Linked DNA regions of Homo sapiens: region 2 is linked to region 1. Evidence: promoter capture Hi-C in 16 types of primary human blood cells and fetal thymus (Javierre and others, 2016). All regions are on one chromosome and are shown on one strand. Each heading gives the region's core, a stretch centred on a gene start or on the middle of the fragment in contact. The rest is flanking DNA. Distances are from core to core; before and after follow the strand shown.

Region 1 (5,713 bases), core at 2,110-4,609:
AGCCTTCCAACCACCCTTCCCAAATTACATTACTAAACCATTCTTGGGCACAGGGTGTTTTTAGTGAGCCAGGCTTCAGGAAGGGTCCTCATGGTGACTACTTCAACCCCACAACAGCCCAAGCTCTTCTGCTCAGCCCAGCCAAGACCCTAAACTCCAAAATTCTTGAAAATCAGAGAATCATTGCTGGCTTTGTGTGGTCACGGAGGGGTGGGGAACAGGGCACATGGTTCCAGCTCCACTAAGCCCCCTTCCCTCCTCTCTTCGTGTCCCATCAGCAAGTGAGCTGGATGCTGAAGCAGCAGGCAGAGTCCGGTGTTGGACATGGGAACTGAGGCACAGTGCAGATCAAGCCTTAACCTTGAGGGAAACACAGGTCACATAGCACAGCTGGGGGAACACAAAGCCTCTGCTTACTCCTGAAAGAGTGCTGTTTTCTGTCCTGTATGTGTGACGTGTCTGTGAGCGTGCAAGAAGCCCCTATCTTGACTGGGACAATGGCCAGTGAGTGTAGCTGGGGAAGAATTGAGAGCATGTCCAGGTCCCTTCCCCAGCCAACGCCCAAGATCAGGCCACAGCCTCCTCACAATCAATTGCCTCCTCACTCCTTGATCACTCAGTGCTGCCCAGGCCCAGCAGAACAGACTCTGCCAGCAGGCCCCACTAGCCCCAGCTCCTCTTTGGGTCTCAGGTCCCCTGAGGATATGGGGCTTCACCTGAAATGGTCTGAGGGCTTTTCCTTCTACACAGCAGGCATCAAGATCACCAAATAAAGGGACTATTGTGCCTGCCTGGAGCCCTGCCAGAGGTTTGGGCCCAGAGGGGCACACAGCAGGTGCTCAATAACTGCATTAAATGCACTAACAGTGAGGAAACACGCCCCTCAGACTAAGCAGTGAGTGCTGCTCACAGAATAGTCCCCATTGGGGGATGGCCCAAAGAGTCACTTTGGTCCCTCTGGGAAGTGAGAAGGCAAGTGAGAAGGCTGTGAGTCTTAACCTCCTCTAGAGGCCCACAGACAGACCATTCATTTCTAAGTCTCTACCCAGAGACGCACTGTGCTTCCCACCTTGGCCTGACATGTGGCAGGGTTAGAACACACCTCCTATCCCCTGCCAGCCCGCGTTCATGCCAAGTAGCACATATATGCCTAAACTCAGCACTTCCATAGTGCAGTGAATACATGTGTGTGTACAGCATCTCCGCATGGATGTACAGGATGTGTGTGTGTGTGCGTGCCCCCATGCTGTCTGCATTCAGGCTGTTCTTTTTGGTAAGACAGCTAAAAAAAGAATGGTCTGTGAAGGGACACTCCCTAGCACGCTGCAACACCTGAATATCTCCTTGAAAGGAGGGATCTTCTACTGCAGGAGACTCGTGGTAAAGGTGGCCAAGAAACATGGCAACGGTGGGGCTGAGGGCAAATGCTGGGCAACTGTGCTTCCCCATGTTCCCCTCCCCGTAGCCAAGACTCATTTCATGGAGGGAGATCTCAGCTTGGAAGAAGGCAGGAGTCACTGAGCCTCCCCAATCCAAACCCCTGAGAAGTGTCCTCCCTCTGGCCTCAGACCCTGCATCCTGTGGTCACAGACCCACAGTGAGAAAGGACCAGGCCCTAAGGAGCTGTGCTGTCTCTCCACGGCCCAGAGCGGGGGATGGGGATGGGGATGGGGATGGGGATGGGGATGGGGATGGGGGTAGGGGTGGGGGTGCTTTGGACTAACGTGGAGGGAATGGAAGGCAGGCCTGGTTCCACCCTGCATGCCCGACCCTGGCCCCAGCAGCCCCCACAAGGAGCTCAGCTGACCCTGGGTGTCTCCCTGTGATGGGAAGGGGTAAGACGAGGACTCAAAGGCAGAACCTGCAGAGTGCCCCAGACGCTGATACCTGCACAGTCAGTGCCACCCACCCAGGAGTTGAGGAGGCACTGGGTTTTGGGGTGAGGACACTGGACACCTCCCTGCTTCTTTCCCAGGCAGACAATCCTGGCGCAGCTCCCTTGGGTTGCTGTGTCTGGTGGAGCTGATCACAGGTGAGGGGCAGAGGGCAGTCTGGGGTCCGCCTATGGCCAGAGGAGCAGGTCAGGGCGGCGCCTTGCCGCCCCAGCTGTGGCCTGTTTGCTCAAGACGCTGAGGTCTCGGGGCCAGCTAACAATTGTTGAGCAAAATCCTTCGACAAACTTCACCTACGTGCAAGGACTCGAGGAGGGAATCACTCTTAGGAGTGGGAGAGTAATGTCTTTGCCTGTGCCCAGTGAAGGCCCATTGGAGCTGCAGCTCAGCTACCACTGTGTGGGAGAGAAGCTGGAAGACTGAGGGCTTCCTGGGCTGCTGGCCCAGGGTTGGGAGACAGCAGTCACCTGGCTTACCAGGCCTATGCCTGAAGCCCTGGGAAGCCAGGACGCAGGCCCCAGGCTGGGACAAAGCTACCCTGAAGGAGGGCAAAGGCTGCCAAGGCCAACCCCATGCCTGCCAAGGCCAGGCCTGGCCCATTTGGCCAAGGCCTAAGGTGTAAAACAAGGGGAGAGGTACAAGAGGCTGTGGGGTCTGGCTGGGATCCTTGGGGTCTTCCTTCTGCATTCTCCAAACGCCTAGAGCCAGCAGAAACGTTTCGTCTGATTAGAAGCCATCATTTCTATCCCAATCCCGGAAAATTGACTGCGGTGCAGAGAGGGAGGCCTGAGAAGCAGCCGTAGGGGAGAAGGTCCAAGCTAATTAGGAGGCAGCATCCGGGGGCCCATTAGAGCGCAGGCTGCTGTCACTCAGCCGGGCTGAGTTCCCGGGAGAAGAGGCTGGAGAAGGAGGGGCAGGCGGCCCCTCGACGAGGACACCGCTGGGAGCTGCCGGAACGGGCCCCGGGCTCTGCCCCCGCCCCGGCGCTGGCTCGAAGGCGCCCGCTCGGTGCGATCCTGTTCGGCAAACATTCACTCATCCTGGGCTGTTCTCGCCAGGGCTGGGGACTTCGAGGCGGCCGAGACGGGAGTTGATTCTAGGCGAAACAAGTCATTTGAGGCCTGAGGTGTGCACGAGCCGCCCGGGACTCGCAGGCCAGATGCGTTTCTTTTGTGAGGCCGAGGGAGAACTCGGTGTGTCACCGGGGAAGGAGGGAGAGGCGCGGCGAGGCCGCGGGGGGCGGGGAGGCGGCGGGAAGGTGGCTGCGGAGGGGGAGGGCGCGGGCGAGGCAGGGAGGGAGGGAGGGCGGCAGTGAGGGCGCGGCGGCGCGGGCGGCTTGGGGCTGGATTCCGCCCGCGCTCCCTCGCTCGCTCGCTCCCTCCCCAGCCCCCTCCCACCCAGGCCCACCCCACCCAGCACCCCTGGCGCAGGGACTGCTGGAACCTGGCTGTGCGCGCTGTCGCTTTAAGACAGACTCTGCCGGCGCCGTCCGGAGCCTTAGAAACCGGCCCCGGATCGCGAGCCGGAGCCGGAGCCGGAGCCGGGGCCGGCCGGGCTGCTGAGGCCCGAGCGGCAGGAGCGCAGCGCGGAGCGCTGAGCCAGGCGCCCAGTCGCGAGAAGCTGCCGCCGCCTCTGCCCGCCCGGCGCCGCAGCCCCGGGCGGTCCATGGGGCGGGCACGGCGTCGCTGCAGGCGCCGGCAGCCCTGGAGGGCAGCCGCTTAGGCGCTGCGCTCTTGTCCCCGCAGGTCGCAGCCAGGGCGGCGGGGCGCGCCCAGCCCCGGCCCCTGGAGCGCCCGCCGCGGTCCCCACCTCCATGGACGCCTTCAAGGGGGGCATGAGCCTGGAGCGGCTGCCGGAGGGGCTCCGGCCGCCGCCGCCGCCACCCCATGACATGGGGCCCGCCTTCCACCTGGCCCGGCCCGCCGACCCCCGCGAGCCGCTCGAGAACTCCGCCAGCGAGTCGTCTGACACGGAGCTGCCAGGTAAGCGCCGTTCCCCGCGCGGCGCGCACAGAGCCTACCCGGGCGCGGAGCACGGGGAGCTGGGAGCAGGGCCTGACGCCCGCGCCGCGCAACCAAGCTCCCTCTCCGCCCCAGAAGCGTCAGGAGCTTTCTTTTTCCCGTTCTCGACCTGACGGTGAACGCGGAAACTTACGCACACGCGAAGGCACTTCCACGCGGTCCCCACGCGCCAAGAGACTGGCAGATGCACGAGCCTACAGCTGGAGGGTTGGACTGACAGCCCCTCTTGATCAGGAGTAAATAGAACGGGAAAGAATTTGATTTGCGCAACTGGGCGCTAAGGAGCGGCTCGGACGAAGGGAGAGGAGGAGACCGAGAAAGGAAGAGGGGTGACGGGCGAGAGAACGCACTCAGAGAGACAGAGAGGGAGGTTAACACCGTGACAGTAGGCGACAGAATGAAAGAGACCAAAGAGAAGGGGCGGGCGGGAAGGGTAAACGGGGGGAGAGGGGTCATCAAGTAGAAGGGAGACACAGAGGACGGTGAGGGCGAGCGGGCCAACAGGCGCGGCCGGACTCCCAGCAAGGCCAGCCGGAACGCCGATCAAGGGATCCGGCCCACGTGCGCGGCCGAAGCCCGGAGCAGCCCGGCTCTGGCCCCCGCCCCGGCTCCTGCGCGTCTCCCTCCGCGCTGCCTTTTTTTGTCCGAGCTGGAGCTTTTTTCCAGCAGCGAACTGGGCCCGCGGGTGGCCGGCGCGGGCAGTGGGGCAGCGAATCCGCTGCCCAGCGCAGCCGGCCGGGTTCCGGAGGGGCTCCGAGCTCCCCGGTGTGGGCGCCTCTTCTGCGTTCATTTCTTAATACACAGCTGAATGTTTCTCTCCACTTTCTTAGTATCTGTTTCTCTTTTGCATCCCTAAGTGATTTTTCTGAGAGGTTGTTTGCTTGGTTAAAACATAATCAACGCTGAACTCTACTTTTGTTTTCAAAAGTTTTAAGCGCGGTCTTTGGTTGGTTTTATTTTTAAAACCTAGAGAGATATATAATCGTATATTGATTTTTTTGAACCAAATCTATGAGGATGAATTAATTTTAACTGTATCTTTCGATTCTGAAAGAATTAACGTACGAAGTGTAGGTCTGGAATTTAAAATATCTACATGCAACATTATTCTTCCGGAGATTTTAAAAAGTCAATCCAAAATGGCGCGTTTCTCCGGAATTTTCTCAAAATCCATTTACAGTGGTGTTATTTGGGGAATTTAAATTATCTAACTATAATGTGTTTCTCTGGGATTTAAAAATTATCTCTACAAGGGCCTTATTGGGAAGGAGTTAAAAATCTATCTACAACGGTACATTATTTTTTTAAATCCCAGAGAAATAAATGCTTCTGTCAACCTGGAGTTTATACACTTACAGCTCTGTATTTAGTTAGGGGTGTGTTTGTACGGAGCTTTCTGGCTTCTTAATTTACATTTGCTCTGTGTTTCTTCCTGTCTGATTTTGAGAATTTGTGGCCCTTTCAGTGTCTTTAGGCATAGAGCTGTGAGCTTTTCTGGGCTTCTGTGTTTTGTTTTTAAACTCTTTTTCTTTATGTATTAATGTTTCTATGACTGCGTGTGTTTTGTGTAGCTTCAAAGAGAGACAGACTAAAGCCCGAGGTCACCTAGACAGAGTCTGTCTGTCTGGGCTGCAGTTGGTGGGGTTTTCTAGGCTTTGGGACTGGAGGCCTGGAAGCAAGGCCGAGAACCCGGCTGTGTTGTGCCTGCCCAGTGGGGCTCCCATACACCCCTGAGGAGAAGAAAGTGGAGGGACTTTAGGCTGGAGAGATCTGATCCTAGTTCAGAAAAGCAGAGACCCC
Region 2 (5,713 bases), core at 2,096-4,595, 170 kb before region 1:
CTGCGTGGAGGCTGGAGGAAGCCACCACCTCTAGCTTTGAGGGCCTATGACTAGTGAATCGGCATCTCTCCAATTACCATCCTTTCAACCCTGGATTTTCTCATCTAAGTTTTCTGAGTATTATTTGGTCTGCCTTATCACAAAACAATAATGAAAACCATTTGGTGTCAACTGTAATCTTGGATCAAGGCCCAAGCCTGTTGTTGGTCTAGAGAGGCAAAGGAACTGCAGCCAGCCTTCACTGAGCACCTCATCCCGCCAGGTAGCACCATGGTAGAGCTAGAGGTGAAGGCAATGGCTTTGGACAGCACAGACCTGGACTGGGATTCCAGCTTCACCACCTAGCAGCTGTGCGACCCTGGGCAAGTTACCTAATTCTCTAAGCTTTCATTTCCTCCTCCACAAAGGGAAAATAACAATACAACACTAAGGGGCTGCAGAGATGAATTCAGTGAGTGTGTGCAGCCCTGCACAAAGTTGTAGTTCAGGACCAGCAGCATCAGCATCACCTGGGAACTTGGTAAAAATGCAAACTTTTCACCTTAGACCTACTCAATCAGAACCTCTCGGGGCGGGTCTCAGCAATCCCTGCTTCACAAGCCCTCTGGGTGATTCTCACGTACACTGTAGGTTGGAGAACCACTAAGCTGTGTGTGGAAGGTGATTAAGAACTGGCATCTGCCACGCAAGCTACAGTCACAACTGCAAGAATCGCCATCTGCCCCTCCTGTCTCCCTGGAGACAGGAGGCTCAGAAAAGTCAAGTCACTTCTCCAAATTCAAACAGCTAGAACCCAGGCAATGTGACTGCTGGGGCCACAGCCTTCCCACCACACCCTGCTGTCTTCCATTTAAAGCTCAAATCCTAATGCGGAGTAAGTGCTGAGGATGTTCTTTACAGGGCTAAACAGAGGCGAGTGTGGGTAATAGTTGTAAACACTCTATCACTCTGCAGGGAAAGCGAGAAGACTAAGAATAGAAATCATCCTTCCTAAAATATAAGGATGCAGAGCCTCTCAGGCCAGAGATGACTTCATTTCTTAGGAATAAAGGGCACTGGATACACAGAGGGTTCTCCAGGACACAGCTGCTGGGTACTCTTAGGAATGCCCAGGCATCTTAACAGCACTAACAGTAGCTATTTGAGCTATCGATTTCTTTAGTACTTTTCTAACACAAAATGGAAAACACAATTATCAGCTAGTCATGAACTTTGTGACTTTCTCTCCAGGTCTCAGTTTCTCCATGTGCAGACAGGGGAAGCAGTAAGCACCCAAATGCTCTATAGCTTGAGGAAGTGCTGTTTTCCCCTTCCCCATCTGCAATTTGGGCTGAGGCCTCCTCCCAAGGACAGGGTCTCCTTAGCTCGCACTGCACGGAGTCCCAGTGCACTGTGCACCTACTGTGTGCAGACCACTGGTCACATCCGCAGCAAGCACTCATATAAGCCGGAGCCCCAGGCTGACAGGGAGAGAGAAGAGTGTGTCGGTATCTGGGAAACCATTTTGCAGAGAACTCACAGAAACCAGGACCACTGCTGCTCTGCCTCCATGCCTCATCATGTCATCCCAAATTAAAGACCTCTGTGGGCTCTTTGCTTTCAAGAGGAAATTCAAGCTAAATTTAATCTGCCTCAACACCCTGTCTGGCAAGCACTAGGCCCCCAAAAAATGCTTTTATACCAATGCACATAAAGCGATTCACTCACGGTACACCCACCCCCAAACTCCATAAAACCCTGCTGGCCTTATCGGCCCCTGCAAAGCTCCTACAACCACAAGACTGGCACACGGCCTGCAATTCCACCAGGAGCTGCTCTTAGCTGGCCCTCACTCACCACACTCTAGCCACACTGATGGTTTTTAATTCCACAAGGAAACCAAGCTCTGCCCCTACCCCAGAGCCTCTGCAGCATGCTAGTCCCTCATCTGCACTGCTCCTCACTTACTGGGTTCCATCCCAGTCTTTACGCCTCAGCTCAAGAGTTACCTCCCAAGAGAAGCCACTGTATCCAGACTAGGTCCCTCTATCCCATTTGTTTAATAGCACTCTTCACAACTTGCCATTGTCTTTTAGTCTCTTTGTGCTTTATCTGACTATCCTTCCCACTCTAATGAAACAGCTCCAGTAAAATGGGCACCATGTCTGTCCTGCTCACCCATGTATTCCTAGTACCTGGTACGCTACAGGTACAAAATAAATGTTTGTAGAATGGGTGGGTGAATGACTGAGTTCCCAGGGAGAGATATTAAAAATAATTACCATCATCCACAATGAATAGAGGGAGTGATGGGGTTCCCTGGTTGGGGAGGTGTGGATGGGGCAGGCAGGGCAGGCTCCTGCCTCCCTCTCAGAGACTGGTGGGACAGACAGAGAATGGCACCAGAAAACTCACCATAGGACCGATGGTGACATTCTGCCCTATCACTAGCTACCCCTGAAGAGGGCATCTCAAACAGCCTGTGGTCCATGACCACAACATGCAGGCCAGGGTCTGAGCCCTAAGGGAGGAGACCTTTCCCTTCCCAGCCTACCTGTACCTTCTCAAGGTCTGCTGTGGGCCAGGGTCACTGGTGGGAGATAGGGAAGGGCACCCTGGAGAGTACAGCAGCCATCGGCACCATGTTGACAGGCCCCAATGGGAGCCTGATCTCATCACGTCTTCCCTGCTGACAAAAATGCAGCTCCCTGGGTGGGGACACTTACAGAGAACATCAGACCCCATGCCCAACCCCCCATATAGATCCCAGCCAACATTTCCAGTTTGCGAGTTTCTCTAAGCAGATGTGTGCCAGACTGGGCTGGATTACCATTGTAACATTTGCCTTTCATGGGAGTCTAAGCTTCTCCCTCCCAGACTTAGATTTGAAACAAGCTGTGATGGATGTTCATGCTAATAGGAAGACTAACAGCTGGTCACCATTTATTTATGCAAAGAACTTCACGTGGGGAGAAACGTCTACATACCACATCATCAACTAGACACCATTCTGTTACCACGCACAGGCCTGCCGTGTGGGGCTTCCTGCTAAATTAGAGTCCTCCTGTCCCCATGGCTTCTCCTGCCCAGGGATCCCTCACTGAGGAGGAGATGAGGCTGAGGAGGGGGTTTCTCCTCGCATTCATGTCCTCACTCACTCCATGGCCCCAGGCTGGAGTATTTATATAGCCACATTGACTGCTTGCAGCCAGCGAGGTCCATTAGTAGGATGTAAACAGCTCTCAGCTCTTCAAAGGCCAGGGCCAGCCATTCTGTGGGGTCTGAGTCAGCCTGCCAGGGGCTCGCGTTTCAAGCCTTATTCATCTTCCTGATAACTTCCATAAAGGGCCAATGCTGCCTTCCTGGTGTGCTGGGCCTGCCAACAGCACCCCCAGTGGGATTTTCACAAGAAATTGGCATTCACTAAGCTCCTGCTATATACATAACTCTTTCCCAGTCACTCTGGGGAGGGAGAAAAGAGCAGAAAATACATTCACTATCTTTTAGGGCATAAGGCACATGTGGGTAAGAAATATTATGAGTCATCACACAGAAAACCCAACCAAGGGCAGAGTGACATCGGGAAGGGCAGGGTGAGCCAGGAGGGCATAGAACTTAGTGTCCAAGGACATGGGCCACCTCTAGAGAGCCTGGGGTTTGAATGCTAATTGCCTTTAACTGTGTGACCTCAGTCAAGTGGCTTAAACCCTCTGGGCCTAGGTTTTCTCACCTACAAAACGGAGATGACAGCAATAAGATTATGGTGAGGACTAAACAAAATGGTACATGGAGAACACTTAGCATGATGCCTGGAAGAGAGTAAGTGCTCAAGAAACATCAGCTGTGGTTCATTACAAGAGGAAGCTTTCTGGAGAAGGTGAGTTCTGAGCATTCAGAACAAGTGAGGAACACAGACAGACCCCTTCCCTAGCTGGTCATCTTGTCTGTGGGGTGGTGACATTGGCACACACTGCCTCTCTGATTCAGAGTACAGAAGAGGGAAAGACCATTTGCTGGTCTTCTAAGTGTGGACAAAAAAATCCACTCCTAAGAGCCACTCGGTCTTCCAGGAAAAACGAGCAATCCTATAGCAAATTAGCCCATGGAAAAGATTGCCCAAAAGTTCAGAGTCAGATTGTCCTTAGTCTGGGGTAGCCCTGTCGCTCGAGGAAGCTGAGCCTGGCCACAGCTGGGGGTCAGGGCACAGGGGTGGTGGGGCAGAGAGACAGTATGCTTCCTGGCAACACTCCCATTGTCATCACTGCAGAGAGGGGCTTGGAGGAGAGGAGCACCAGCCTTGCACTTTGAAACTGTTACTGGCTTCTGACTCAGACCAAAAAAACCAAACCAAACAAACAACTTCTTTGATTATGCTGGGAGCATGCAAAAAGAAAAACAACAACAACAAAAAGCCTTCGTCTCCTGGCCAGACTTCAAGTCAGAGCGTAGAAGGAATATCTGCATCTGTGCAGATTTTCACAAAGCACTTTCTCATCCTTTGTCTCAGGGTACCCTTACAAGGATCCAGGAAGGCAAGCAGAGAAAGCATGAGTATCATCTTCAGTTTGCAGGTGAAAAATTGGGGTTCAGAGAGGCGAAGGGACTTGCCCAAGGTCACAAGTGACAATGTGGCAAAGCTCAAACTCAAACCCAAGTCTTCCAGTGCCTGATCTAGTCCTCATTGTCTTCCCCACCTGACTCTCTTCCTACCAGTCCCAGCTGCCAAAAATCAGGGCTGTTTGGACAGATAAAGAATATATACAATAAAAAAAAAAAGCTTTCAGCCATGCATGAGACTCCATGGGAGCAAACGATATATTGCATATGGCAACTTCCTTCCCAGATGTTCCCAAGATGGCAAGAGAGCTCCCAGAGGGAAGACAACAAGTTCTCAAGAAGGAAGCAACTTAAGTTCTGCCAAGAGGGAATGGCAAAATGAACTACATCATGTTCACACTGTGGAACAGCAACAGCCACAAGAACAGAACAAGGCTGATCTTGATGTACTGGCACAGGAAGAACACTGGGGCACTGACGAGTAAGAGCCACAGTTGTGAATGAAGCATGCTGTATGATCCCATGGATATCAAACAAGCAATGAAAACAAAACCACATACTGTCTCTGGATTCATAGACACATACGTAAATGCACGGAAAAACATCTGACAAGACCCACCCTCTATCAGATATCTTCCACTTGCCCCTGCAGGGCCACGATCCACCCTCTGGGCCCCAGGAGGTGGCTCTATATGAACTGCATCAGTGGGCTGCCTTGCAGCACCAGCAGGAGACCAAAGGAAGGGGAGAGAATGAGGTTGGAATACTTACTAGGTTGGTGCAAAAGTAGTTATTTTCCCAGTCCTCCCACCAGGAGGTCTCCAAAAACTGGCCACTTCCCTCAGCCAAAGATTATGGCTCCTTTCAAGGTGCCCACACTCTCCTCTTCCAGGTTCTTGTTCTTTGGGCCTAAGGTGAGAAAGGCTTTCTGCTGTAGCAAGCCCTGGAGTGCCGCACTATGCTTTGTGGATTCCCCTGCCCACAACTTTACAATCTTGTCCTTATAGTAAAATTATCCTAGTTAGAATGTGCCATCTGTTTCCTCCCAAGACAACACTCAAGTTATCCACTGAGGGGGCAGTGGAGGAAGAGAGCAGCAGGCACTGGTAGCTGAGGCTTGGCGATCTATAGTGGCATTAGCCTTTGCAGTAATTATATGCTCGTGTGTTTACTTTGT

The links. Contacts are between HindIII fragments. The CHiCAGO score rates a contact against its expected background, and 5 or more counts as called.
Region 2: a contact is called between a fragment that was not itself captured here and the fragment with the promoter of PITX1 in region 1, in 4 of 17 cell types (M1 macrophages, M0 macrophages, M2 macrophages and 1 more). The highest score is 8.2, in M1 macrophages.

The regions. Positions count from the first base shown.
Region 1 is chr5:135,031,874-135,037,586 of GRCh38, reverse strand. It overlaps PITX1 (paired like homeodomain 1), which reads left to right and starts at 3,359. Exons shown (of 3, transcript NM_002653.5): 1 at 3,359-3,874. The coding sequence starts at 3,706. PITX1-AS1 (PITX1 antisense RNA 1) reads right to left here and starts at 4,313. Exons shown (of 6, transcript NR_161235.1): 1 at 4,047-4,313. RefSeq lists an enhancer at 3,843-4,475 and a silencer at 5,646-5,713. The HindIII fragment of the contact is 7,456 bases long and covers 1-5,713 here.
Region 2 is chr5:135,206,581-135,212,293 of GRCh38, reverse strand. All of the region lies in intron 3 of PITX1-AS1 (PITX1 antisense RNA 1), which reads right to left. Among named protein-coding and RNA genes, the nearest start is that of LINC02900, 39 kb to the left of the region's middle. The HindIII fragment of the contact is 1,001 bases long and covers 2,845-3,845 here.